2 separate regions of the Homo sapiens genome follow, and region 2 is linked to region 1. Evidence: promoter capture Hi-C in human tissues and cell types (Jung and others, 2019). All regions are on one chromosome and are shown on one strand. The core of a region is centred on a gene start or on the middle of the fragment in contact, and the rest is flanking DNA. Distances in the headings are between cores, read along the strand shown. Region 1 holds the start of RFC5 (replication factor C subunit 5). Region 2 overlaps FBXO21 (F-box protein 21).

Region 1 (6,784 bases), core at 1,436-3,935:
CAACATCTGTGAACTTAAATGATTCTCCGTAATGCTATTTTTACTCCACTGTGTTGCAATTTTATGCTCATGTTTGTGACTTACCCACTGGACTGTAGCAACCTGAAGAAAATGAATGAATGATCTTAAAGCCACATTCTACAAAGCGCAATCAGATTCTTTGAAGTTATTACTTAGGAGAGACAACATCACCAAGCAATTTATACAAGTCGCTCAAGCAGGACAAGAGCAACTGACACATGAATACTTACTGGTACTCAGAATGTCCTGATGAGAAATGAGATCATTCAGGGTCTGTGGCCGGTATTTTTCAACCCTGAAATACAATTTAGTATGTATTATGACATATATAAATGCAAGAATATTTTATGTGCAAAAGAATCCTTGCAGGTCAGGCACAGTGGCTCATGCCTGTAATCCCAGCACTTTGGGAGGCCAAGGTGGGTGGATCATTTGGGGTCAGGAGTTCAAGACCAACCAGCCCGGCCAACATGGCAAAACCCTGTCTCTATGGGTACCTCCTAGGGTCTTTGTAAGGATAGAACAACTAACAGGGTGTCTGCTAACCCGATAATATGCCATTCAATAAAAAATACCAAAAAATACAAAAATTAGCTGGGCATGGTGGCATACCCCTGTAGCCCCAGCTACCCCGAAGGCTGGGGTGGGAGAATTGCTGGAACCCGGGAGGCGGAGGTTGCAGTGAACCGAGATTGCACCACTGCACTCCAGCACTCCAGCCTGGGCGACAGAGTGAGACCTTGTCTTAAAAAAAAAAACAGAATCCTTTCATATCCTAATTTAAAAAGGAAGAATAAGAAAGCACTTTAAGTTTGAACAGACCAGTGGTTCCCAACCACAGGTGATTTTGTCTTCCTAGGAACATCTAGTGATATCTAGAAACATACTTAGTTGTCACAGGTGGGCAGAGGGTCCTATGGCACTCAGTGTGTAGTCTCCAGGAATGCTGTTAAACATGCTACAGTGCACAGGACAGCTCCCCTAAACCCACCCAGAGTATCTGGCCCAAAATGTCAATAGTGCTGAGGTTGAAAACTCTGTTCTAACTTCATCTTTCCAGCTGTTTGCCTATAATCTCAACCTGATGGGCACCTACTATTGCAAAGTGCATTTGAAACTGAACTCCTACCCAAATAGACTTCAACAGAAGAATGGATAGGTAAAATCTCTTCTGTCCATACAATGGAATATGATTCAGCCATAACAAGAAATTAACTACTGATACAAGCAGCAACATGCATGAACCTTGAAAACATGATCCTGAGTGAAAGAAACCAGACACAAAAGGCCACATAGTGTAGGATTCCACTTACATGAAATGTCCAGAATAGGCAAATCCATAGATAGAAAGCAGATTAGTGGTTGCCAGGGGCTAGAGGAAGGGGAGAATGGGGAGTAACTGTCAATGGGTAAAGGATTTCCATTTGGGGTGATGAAATTTTGGAACTAGATAGCGGGAAGACTCCACAACAGTACACTGCATTCTGAATGTACTTAATGCCACTGAATTGTACATTTTAAAATGGTTACAGGATGGGCTTGGTAGCTCGCCTCTAAAAGTCCCAGTTCTTCGGAGGCTGAGGCAGGAGAATGGCTTGAACCCCAATGTTTGAGGTTACACTGAGCTGTGATCACACCACTGCGCTCCAGCATGGGCGACAGAGCGAGACCCTGTCTCTAAAAAAAAAAAATACGTAAATACATAAAATAGTTACAACTGTCAATCTTCTGGGTTTTTTTTAACCACAATAAAGACAAATTGAACTAGTTACTAGACAATGACAACTTGCAGCTTTTCGAAGCCAAGCCAAATTGCTTCAAAGTCTTGGAAGCATTGCGAGAACATAGCTGTTTAAGTAGGATGGTTAAGAGTACAAGATCTGAATTCAGACTTCCTAGATTCACCTCCAAGCCAATTTTCTCCCTTGGACCATAGGGAAGTCATTACATCTTTCTAAAATGCAGTTTCCTCCTGTGTAAAATTTGAAGCGGTGCCTACCTCCTACGGTCTTTGTAAGGATCGAACATCTAACAGGGCGTCTGCTAATCTAATAATATGCCATTCAATAAAAGTTGACCAGGGAGCGTTATTACTAGTTTAAAATGTGACCAATAGTCGCATCGCAGGTTTTGAAGAGTGGGAAGAGGGCATTTTGGCATGGAGGCCATTGCAGGCGTCAGGAGACGCGGGATCGAACCCCTGTGCTGTCACCAGGTGCGAAAGCCGCCTTCTTCTTCGGCAAATGGAGCTGGGGGTGAAAGGGTGAGAACTGGCAAAAGCCCTAAACAGAACGGACGAGTCTGGGTAGCTGGGGGGTGTCGGGGGAAACCTCTGCAGGTCGGTCCCGGCTGCAGGCCTGGAGACGACGGGAAGAGGTCGGGTTGGGGTCCGGTCACCTGCCACCCCAGCCACCTCCTCCCCGCGCGGCCGCCTGGCCCCCTCTGCCCACCGCCGCCGCTCGGCCTCCTCCTACCAGGGCAGGTTCCTGATCTTGGTCGCCGCGGGCTGCTCCTGCTGCTTGAGTGCTGAGGTCTCCATGGCGGGGAGACGAAGGTGACCAGATCCGCTGAGATCGTCGCGTCACCCAAGCGCCTGCACAGTGACCAGCCGCGACCTGACCCTGAGACCCTGGCACTTACAGTTCGCGCGCAAAAGCAACTCTCGCGAGACGCGGCCACCAGTTTCCGACTTCCTCCCTCGGTCCCGCCCCCTCGCGTTGCTAGGGCGTCGGTTGCTAGGTTACCGGAGGCGCGGGCCGCCAGCGTCCCTCCAAGCTCCGCCCCTCCAGCCTGCTCTGAACTCTCAGATACCCAGGCGCTTCCAGAGCAGGGCAGCGGGAGAGGCAGGGCCCCCTGCAGCCCCAGTCATCATTACATATTAAGATCTCAAGGCCAAAGCCAATTCCTGCCATCGCCAAGCTTCAAACACTTAAATTCAAAGGAACAAAAGCTGCCGGGGCTCAAAAAAAAAAAAAAAAATCTAAGAAAAAAAACAACACCGAGTAAAACGGCTGGGTCTTGAATATAGATGCCTTTGCGAAAGAAGGCTTGAGATACCTCTCGGCCCCCAAGCTGGGAGGTGAATATTTGGAAATGAAAACAACCCCAAACAAACACAACTGCAACCTACCTATCTCCGGAATCCGTGCCCCTCGCCCAAAAAGTTTAGGGAACCAACCTCCAGAAAACGACTCCAGAGAAAAACAAACAGAAACTTCCAGTTGGGTTAATCTGTGTCGCTGGAAGGTCTAGTTCATGAACACAGAGGACAAGGTCCTTGTGATCTGAGATACTGAGGAGAATCGATATCAACATTTTAGGTTTTTTTCCTGAGGCGAGGAGAATTCTAGATCACTTTTATTTTCTTCTTTTTTGTTGGTCTGTATTTTCTTTTCTTTTTTTTGGTGTCTTGCTCTGTCACCCAGGCTGGAGTGCAGTGGCGCTATCTCGGCTCACTGCAACCTCTGCCTCCCGGGTTCAAGCGATTCTCTGCCTCAACCTCCGGAGAAGCTGGGATTACAGGCGCGCGCCACCACGCCTGGCTAATTTTTGTATTTTTAGTAGAGATGGGATTTTGCCATGTTGGATAGGCTGGTCTCGAATTCCTGACCTCAAGTGATCCACCCGCCTCAGCCTCCCAAAGTGCTGGGATTACAGGCGTGAGCCACTGCGCCTGGCCTGGTCTGTATTTTCCAGCAATGAGCATGCAAAGCATCCATATTGAAGTCTTTTCTTTTTTTTTTTCTTTTAACATGATGAGGAAGACAAAAATCCTGGAGGATTTTTGAGGCTGGCCTGGGGTCAGCAGTGTTCTGATTAGGAGGTAGCAATACTCTTTGCATAGGATTACATCACTGTCACCTGCTTCAGGAACACAGCAGAGGGACAGTGGCAAGTATGTGATGGCAGTTATGGCTTCACCCTAGCCCCTGCCTGGGGACCCCGAAGAAGGGGATCAGCTAGGGCTTGTGATGTGACAGTGCCCCTACTCTGCTTGCTCCCAGGAAACTTTAACACTGGGGGCTTAGATCATTAGCATGCCATTTTTAAACTTTTCTTTCTTTCTTTTAAGATAAAACTGGTTTTATTCATTTTTATCTCCAGGAAGGGAATCATAAATGATTAACAAGTTTTTCTTAAATACTAAGGCTAAAAATCAGCACATGTTTACAATTAATTTGCTGACACATGCTGAGGTGAGATATAGATGCCTCTGAATTAAAGTTATAGAAACACATTAAATATTTGTCATGTATTGCCAAATTCTGGGGTCTTTGAACACTCCTGGGGTTTTGTTCTGTTTCGTTTTTGAGAGAAGGTCTCACTATGTCACCCAGGCTGGAGTGCAGTGGCACAATCACGGCTCACTACACTCTCTAACTCCCCGGCTCAAGTGATCTGCCTGCCTTGGGCCTCTTAAAGTGCTGGGATTATTGGCATGAGCCACTACACCCAGCCCACTTCTGTTTTTTAAAAGGCATAAAATACAAGTGATGGGTATAAAAATAAAGGAAAACAGCTGATACAATTTTAGAAAACAACTGATACAATAACTAAGCAAAATTATGAAAGATTACTAAAGAAATAAATGGTGCTATACCCTCCTCACCAACGATCTAATTGTTGAGACGCAGGCTTCACACTGGGGTAAAATCCTAAAGGGTGGCTGATATGGTTTGGCTCTGTTTCTCCACTCAAATCTCATCTTGAATTGTAATCCCCAGGTGTCCAGGAAGAGAGGTGAGTGGATCATGGGAGCGGTTTCCCCCATGCAGTTCTTGTGATAGTCAGTGAGTTCTTACAAGATCTGATGGTTTGATAAAGAGCTCTTCCTACTTCACTCTTTCTTCTCTCTCCTGCCGCCTTGTGAAGAAGGTGCCTGTTTCCCCTTCGCCTTCCACCATGATTGTAAGTTTCCTGAGGCCTTCCCAGCCATGTAGAACTGTGAGTCAATTAAATCTCTTTCCTTTATAAATTACCCAGTCTTGGGTATTTCTTTATAGCAGTATGAAAATGGACTAATACAGTGGCTTTTGAAACTAAAGGAGAAGTCATCAAGAAAGCATTGCTTTGGGTGTCAGAAGACCTGCCTCGAATCAGTTCAACTCTAAAAATCTTTACACAGCCTATGGAGAGAAACCTAAGCAAGTCCCCAAATCCTCAAGTGTTCCAGGAGAATGAAAAGAATTATAAAGGCTAAAGAATTATTAGAATCAGTGCAGTGAACATGTAGACCAAAGCATTCCTACATGCCAGGAAAATGGTGCATTTGAATGTTTTTGCTTCTCATGAGAAAGGCAATTTAAGTTGCAAGGCAAAGGCAAACTTTTGAAGATGGCCACGTGGACTCTGGATCCTTCTCTCTTTGTTCATGATTTGTTCTCCCTTCAGTGGTTTTGCTCCTTGCCAAGCATTAGGTACCCTTGGGGTGGGATGCCACTTTTTCCACTTAGCCTTGGGCAGGTTTCTTCTCTCCTTATCCAATAATATTTACTCAAAGATTGTTGTAAGGATTAAATGAAAGAACAAATGTGCAGCATCCAATACATCGCCACCCTACTCTTCCCTTCCCTCCTAACACTCTCCACCCAAACTGTTCTGGTTTCAAATTTGTCCTCTGAAACAAAACCCAAAGGATTGGCTAGTGGAACTATGCCATAATCTGCCCTTATTGATGGTTAAGGCCATCCTTACCATCATGGTACGAGCCATTCATGGTAAGAACCATCCTTCTAAGGACCTTTGCATTAGAAGCATGATGCTGCCACCTCCTTGAGCTGGAAGATTCAAAAAAGAACAGAACAACTTATCATAAAACTCTGTGTGCATCTGCTGTTCCGTTAACTTGGAATGTAGAATTCTCCTGTGTTGACATTAGATTATATGTTGCAAAGTCATCTATTGTATGCCTTCCCAATGGAATGTAAGCTCATTGGAGGAGAACCTTGACTTACTCACCACTGTACTTCTGGGGCCTGAAACATTGCCTGGCTCAAAGGAAGTACTCAACTCATAACTGTTTGATGAATGAATGAATGAAAATGGCTCATATCCATTAGGCAGTTTCTATGGCCGAGACACTGTTCTAAGCACTTTACGTTTATTATGATCACTCAATTGTTACAAGAAGCCCAAGTTACTATCATTGGCCCCATTTTGCAGATATGTTAGGTACCTTGCTTAGGTTCTCACTTGTAAGGGGCAGAACTGGATCTTGCTAATATAGTCTGATTCTATATAGCCCATGCTGGGACAACAGCATCAACAGCAGCCCCTGGGAACTTGTTAGACATTCTAATTATTCTTCCCACCACCTCAAACCCAAGACATCTTAAACTTCACAGCTGGGGCCCAGCCATCTGTGTTGTGACAAGCCCTTGAGGGGATTCTGAATCGCTCAGGTTTGAGAGTCATATCACTATACTACCCTGCTTCTCAGTCCTCAAGCACTCCAGGAATTTGATTTCCTATTTATTTATTTATTTGAGAGAGGGATCTCACTCTGTCACCCAGGCTGGAGTACAGTGACACTATCGCAGCTCACTGCAACCTCCACCTCTAGGGCACAAGTGGTCCTCTCGCCTCAGCCTCCCTAGTAGCTGGGAATGTGGGCGCATGCCACAACGCCCGGCTAGTTTTTGTATTTTTTGTAGAGACAGGGTTTTGCCATGTTTCCCAGGCTGGTCTTGAACACCTGGGCTCAAATAATCCACCCACCTTTGCCTCCCAAAGTGGCTCATACTGGGATTACAAGCATGAACCA
Region 2 (6,238 bases), core at 2,201-4,700, 840 kb after region 1:
TGGCTAATTTTTATTTGGTAGAGACAGTGTCTCACTATGTTTCCCAGGCTGGTCTTGAACTCTTGACTTCAAGTGATCCTCCCACCTTGGCCTTCCAAAGTACTAGGACTATAAGTGTGAGCCAACAAACAAATAAGGTTGTTTTTAAATGATAGAATACCCCGCATTTAAAAATATTTTGGGATACCAGTTTTCATGGAAGACCCTGTTTGTTTTCATTCCTGGCAAATGCTTATGGTTTGGATATGGAAAGCATGGGAAGGAAAAAGTGTAGTTTCCATAAATGCCAAAGTATCAGCTTGAAATCAGTTTGTGTTTATGATGTGCTATGTGGTCTTAAAAACGAGTATGTCCTACAATAAAGATTAGAAACAGCATATTAAAAGGGCATACACTGGGCCAGGCACAGTGGCTCACACCTGTAATCCCATGACTTTGGGAGGCTGAGGTGGGCAGATCACCTGAGGTCAGGAGTTCGAGACCAGCCTGGCCAACATGGAGAAACGCCGTCTCTACTGAAAATACAAAAAATTAGCCGGGCATGGTGGCAGGCACCTGTAATCCCAGCTACTCAAGAGGCTGAAACAAGAGAATCGCTTGAACCTGGGAAGTGGAGGTTGCAGTGAGCTGACATTATGCCGCTGCACTCCAGCCTGGGTGGCAAAGTGAGACTCTGTCTCAGATAGATAGATAGCTAGATTAGATAGATAGATAGATAGATAGATAGATAGATAGATAGATAGATAGACTGTCTCAGATAGATAGATCGATCGATCGATAGACTGTCTCAGATAGATAGATAGATATAAATAGATAGATAGATAAATTCATACATTGTACCTGAGAAAAGTGTCACAGAATGACCAATACTGAGACATACTTTAGTAAAATTGCTGGATTTTAAAGACAGGAAAGTCCTTTGAGCATCCAAGCAAAAAAGGTAAAGTCATTTATAAGGAAAAGAAAATAAGAATATCATCAGACTTTTCAACAGAATTTTTTGTGCCAAAGGAAAAAATAGCTTAAGATACTCAATGATCTAAGGAAATGTCAACCAAGGATTTTTATATCCAGCCAAACTGACTTCCAGATACAAAGACTGCACAGAAACTTAACAACTTAACAAGAATTCAGTGACTTTTCAGTCCTTCCTGAGAGATCTCCTGGAAAATGAATTTCAAATGACCAAAAACCACTCCCCGCCCCAAAAAAAACAAAACAGAGAAACACTGATATAAGGACTGGCAGTGAGCACTAAACATGTATTTATTTTTAGATTTAAATTCAAATGAGGGCTCTAGGGGAGAAAATATTTCATGTGTAACGTCTGTAAGACATGTCAGTATAAATACAATGCATCTGTTTTAAAAAATGAATGGACAGTGGGGGAGAACATATGCAAAATATTTAGCTGTTTTCAGTAATCATAAAAGTGATGAGTAATCCCAGCACTTTGGGAGGCTGAGGTAGGCGGATCACAAGGTCAGGAGACTGAGACCATCCTGGCCAACATGGTGAAACCTCGTCTCTACTAAAAATACATAAAAAAAAAAAAATTAGCTTGGTGTGGTGATGCAGCCTGTAATCCCAGCTATTTGGGAGGCTGAGGCAGGAGACTAGGTTGAACCCGGGAGGCGGAGATTGCAGTGAGCTGAGATCGCACCACTGCACTCCAGCCTGGCGACAGAGCGAGACTCCGTCTCAAAAGAAAAAAAAAAGTGATGAAAACATTAGTCTTGTTATTCTGAGGGCTGGTGTGTGTGTATGAGAGAGAGATGTGGAATGAAGTAAATGAATAACGATGTGATATTCTAATTTTACCACCTGTGATATCCTGGAGAAGCAGAATTCTCCTGGAATAAAGAAGACATAGATATAAGATAGAAGAAGGTCAGAGACATATATTTTTGAATTAGAAGTGCCAGTGTGAACTCAAAAGGTATTTTATATTTAAATACATGTAGGTATATGTAAGTGCATGTGCATATGTACATGTACACACACGTGCACATCAACACTAGGCTTCCTACGTCTGTTTGCTGAAAAGATCTAGAAATAATAACCAACCTAGTGGAATTGATCTTCCCTGGTTTCCAGATTGTCATCTTGATACAACATTTTCCACAAAAGAAGCCAGGGTTTTTGGAGAAAGACTGATTGTATGTCCAATGCAAGGATTTTAAAAGATGAGCCTGGTGGTGCATCCTGGAAACCTAACCAGATAGTAAGAAAACTGACACTACTTTATGTCGGAAGTATTGAGGAACCAATATGAAGAGGCTTCCAGTGGCCAAAGATGTGACAGTTAGAGCATCAGTGTGGATAATAACAGGAATGGATTGAAATGCATCGAATATGCTTGTCTCTCTGAGTCCATAATACTAAAAAATTAATTGGTCACCTTTGAAGGATAAATAGAAGCCCATATCATTGTTTTGAAAAATTGTAAATAGAAGATATGAGCATTTATCCTGCCTTTTCCATGTACTGTATCATGGGGGATCAAATAATAGACGGGGAGGTTTTTCCTTATAGAAGTATCCCAGCTAATGAATTAAGAAGGGTTGATTGAATTTTAATATCACCACTTCGTAACCTCAAATGAATGAACAGATCAAGACATTGAGTAGCAGTGCTGCTGACATCACAAAAGAAACACCCAGGCATTATTGCCTCCTGATGGGAGAATGCACTACCTTCTATGAAATTATCTTGCTAAATTAATGGAATCTGTATCTCATGTAGCCTCTACATCCAATTTACAGGAGATCAGAAGACAGAAGAACATGTTAAACTACATCATGTGGGTACAGTCAGCAAATTTCAGACGATGGGAAACTGCAGGTCAAACAACCCAGGTTCTTCAACAAATAAAATGCAAGGGAAAAAAAAAAGATGGAGGAGGATCCTGTAGATTAAGAGATTTAGAAGGCATCAAAACAGACTCGCCTGTTTAGGGATGTATATTTCATGGTAATACTAAAGAGAAAAGCAAGAAAGTGATGACCATAGAGGTGTGGTTTGTGATTATTGTTGCGGGGGGCCCCGGAGGGCTTCTTGGCCGTTTGCAAAGTTTTCTTTCTTGGCAAGAGTGTTAGATCCAGGAATGTGCCTTGTAATGATTCATTAAGCTACTTGTTTGTTTCACACAATTTTCTAGATTGATATATTTTACAACTCAAAGGTTAAAAAGTAGATGAAACATAGATCATTCTGCAGATTTTCATTGACCTCTCTCAAGATTGGCAAGTTGTTTGTTTCTTCATGATGTCAGCCAGATAAGTTTCATCACTGTCTCTCTCCTGCTTCTTATAATCCCCATATGTATTTGGGATATGTGGTGAAGAATTTTATCCACTCAACAAGTGTTATGGAACATCTACTATGTGCCAGATGCTATTCTAGGCACTAGGGATACAGCAGTGAACAACACAAAAAAAATCCCTGCCTTCATGGGGCTTATACTGTAGTGGGCGAGATGGGCACTAAGAAATTGGTTACATTAGAAAATGAAACATGCTATAGAGAAATATAATCGGGGAAGAAGGCAGGGGAGTGGTGAGGGGGTACCATTTAAAATAATGTAGGGGGCCTTACTCAAGGGGACATTTGAGTTGAAACCTAGGAGAAGGTGAGAACAGACTGCAGTCTCTGGAGAGAATGTTCCAGGCAGAAGAACAGGGCACTAAGGTGAGCACCCGCCAGACAGTAAAGGAACAGCTGGAATGCTTGGGTGGCTGGACTGAGGGGGAGTGGCAGGAATTGGGGTCAGAGAGGTAATGGGGCGAGAGTTCAAGAGACCTTTTAAGTCCTCCTTAGGACTTGGGCTTTTTCTTGGAGCGAGGTGGGAAACCGCTGGAGACTTGGAGGCGAGGATTGGGTGGCGTGACCGTACGTGTTACTGCAGTGCTCTGGCTGCCGTATTGAGGATGGACTGTGGAGGGGCCAGGTCTGAAGCGGGAAGCTGAGGTAGGAGGATGTTGCTGCAACACAGGAATGCTGATGGTGGTGTGTGGGAGTAATTGGGAAGTGTGCACATTTTGGATGTAATTTGAAGATAGTACCGATAGCATTGGCTGACAGGTCTTAAGTATGGCTTATGAGAGAAAGCAAGGCATCCAGGATGACTCGCAGGTTTTATGCCTCACTAGAATGATGGAGATGCCTTGATCAGAGATGAGGGTGACTCTGGGAGGGGAAGAAAGATGAAAGTGCTCAGCTATCTGAGTGGGATGTGGAGTAGATGGATAGTAGTTGATACAAAGGTCTAGAGTTCAAGAGAGAACTCTGGTCTGGAAAATAGGAGTTTTCATAATATGTGAAACCGTGAGGAACTCACCATGGCAGTGAGTGCCCAGGCCCAAGTGGCCCAAGCAGGGGGACCAGCAAAAGGTTCTAGATGCCTCCCCATCTTCTGAACCTCCCCCAGCTCAATTCCTTTTTCAGGCTGCTCTTCCATTTCCTTTTATGAAAGATACAGGCAAGTAAGTCTGAAGCCAGGCAGATAACTGTTCCTCAGATTTCAGTACAACTAATTTAGTATTATATTACAATTCAAAGACTGCTATTTCCATTATAATTATTATAAGAGAATGAACCAATTATATTTTTCTTGTTAAGCAAACTACATGGTATGTTAGTGTAATGTGAAAAATAGATAACTGAAAGTTTTCAAATCTTAATTCTTACTGACTTTTTGTTTCCAGAAAAGCTTTGACCTGGAAATACTACGCAAAAAAAATTCTTTACTACCTGCGGCAACAGAAGATCTTAAATAATCTTAAGGCCTTTCTTCAGCAGCCAGATGACTATGAGTCGTATCTTGAAGGTGGGTCTTTTCCCATATATGTGGACAGTAGTATTTCTGTAGGTAACTGATTAGTTTTTTAAGACCAGCAGAGGGAATTGTGTTCCTTGTGGTAAAGAAGTGAAAAAGCAAATCATGTTGCGTGGGCTTCTGCAGGTTGGATTATAGGGCCTGATCAATGAGGTAGTTCAAACTATTAAATTTAGAGCTAAGATTTTATCAAAGTCCACTAAAGAAATAGTGTTTTTTAAAGATGCATCATTGGCTTAAAATGTGAGAGTGATACTTTAGCTAATGAAGTAAATTCCTGTTTTTCCGAGCTTTAATGATCATTTCCAAATCAGAAGTAAATGTATCCAATTTTGTCTCCCTGTGACCTTGAGTAAATCCCTTAACCTCTCAGGTTGGAGTTTATTGAGGACAGAATGTTCTTGGGCATCAGTGAGTCTGCTTGTCCGTAATGAAAGGTGAGAAGGAAGAAGTTGAGTGGACAGGCAAGATGAAGGGAGTGGAGAATCTTTTTGTTCTTATTAAGTTGAACAGGAACAAAGTGAGACTTCCATTTTTTTTAAAATGATTTTGAATTCCTACAATATTACACAAACATTCCCATAAATTATGGTTATGAAATACAAATATGACTGGTCGTTTACTTTTATTCCCTACTTCTGATGTTTTACCAGATTGTTGATTTTTTTTTCCATTCCAGTGTATCTCATAGTCATGTTCCCATTCTGTTACTATTCCTTTTTTTAAAAAAAATGTATTTATTTTTAGAGACGGGGTCTTGCTATGTCACCTATGCTAGATTCAAACTCCCGTGCTCAAGTGCCACCACACCTGGCTGGCTTCTGTAACTAGTCTCATGCAGTCTATGGCCACCTCTCCTGGCAACAACTTTCTGAGTAATACTTGCTTTCATGAACATTACCCCCCCTTCCCTCCAAGTCAGCCAAAATACCAGTGCCAGCCCCATTAGAAATCTAGCCTTCACCACTGCATGTGAAACCTGCAATGTGGACAACTGATTTCCCTTTTATATTTAACCTCTACCTGCTTTTCAATGCCCTGCATAATCTGGTCCAGACCTTTGCTCCGTACTCTCCAGGATGTCCCATTTGCTCCAGCCAGGCCATTGTCTAGACTGGTGCCCCACAAATACACCTGGCTTCACTTCCTCATTCATGATATCCCTCCTTCTCATAATCCCTCTTGAAAATCCTACTCCCCCTCCATAATTCAGCTCAAGCCTCACTTCCATTAAATTTCCACTGACTACTTGGAGATTTTACTCACCTCAGAGCTACAGTAGCATTTAATAGTAAGCTGTCTTGCATTTTTTCTGTTTCCTGTGTATACATTTGTTTCTGTAACTAGTCCCTAAGCTTCCCGTGTTGTGGTCCTTGTGTTAGGATCACTGTATACCTCACA

Evidence for each region. The method cuts DNA at HindIII sites, captures the fragments that hold promoters and counts their contacts. A contact is called where the count stands out against the background at its distance.
Region 2: a fragment that was not itself captured here is called in contact with the fragment with the promoter of RFC5 in region 1 in 1 of the 25 tissues and cell types used here (IMR-90 fibroblasts).

Annotation. Positions count from the first base shown.
Region 1 is chr12:118,012,604-118,019,387 of GRCh38, reverse strand. RFC5 (replication factor C subunit 5) reads right to left here and starts at 2,685. Exons shown (of 11, transcript NM_007370.7): 1 at 2,496-2,685; 2 at 252-316. The coding sequence starts at 2,560. RefSeq lists a silencer at 2,394-2,443, enhancers at 2,808-2,977, 5,185-5,354 and a cis regulatory region at 5,269. The HindIII fragment of the contact is 13,218 bases long and covers 1-6,784 here.
Region 2 is chr12:117,176,110-117,182,347 of GRCh38, reverse strand. FBXO21 (F-box protein 21) reads left to right here. Exons shown (of 12, transcript NM_015002.3): 4 at 4,707-4,828. Among named protein-coding and RNA genes, the nearest start is that of FBXO21, 11 kb to the left of the region's middle. The HindIII fragment of the contact is 9,040 bases long and covers 1-6,238 here.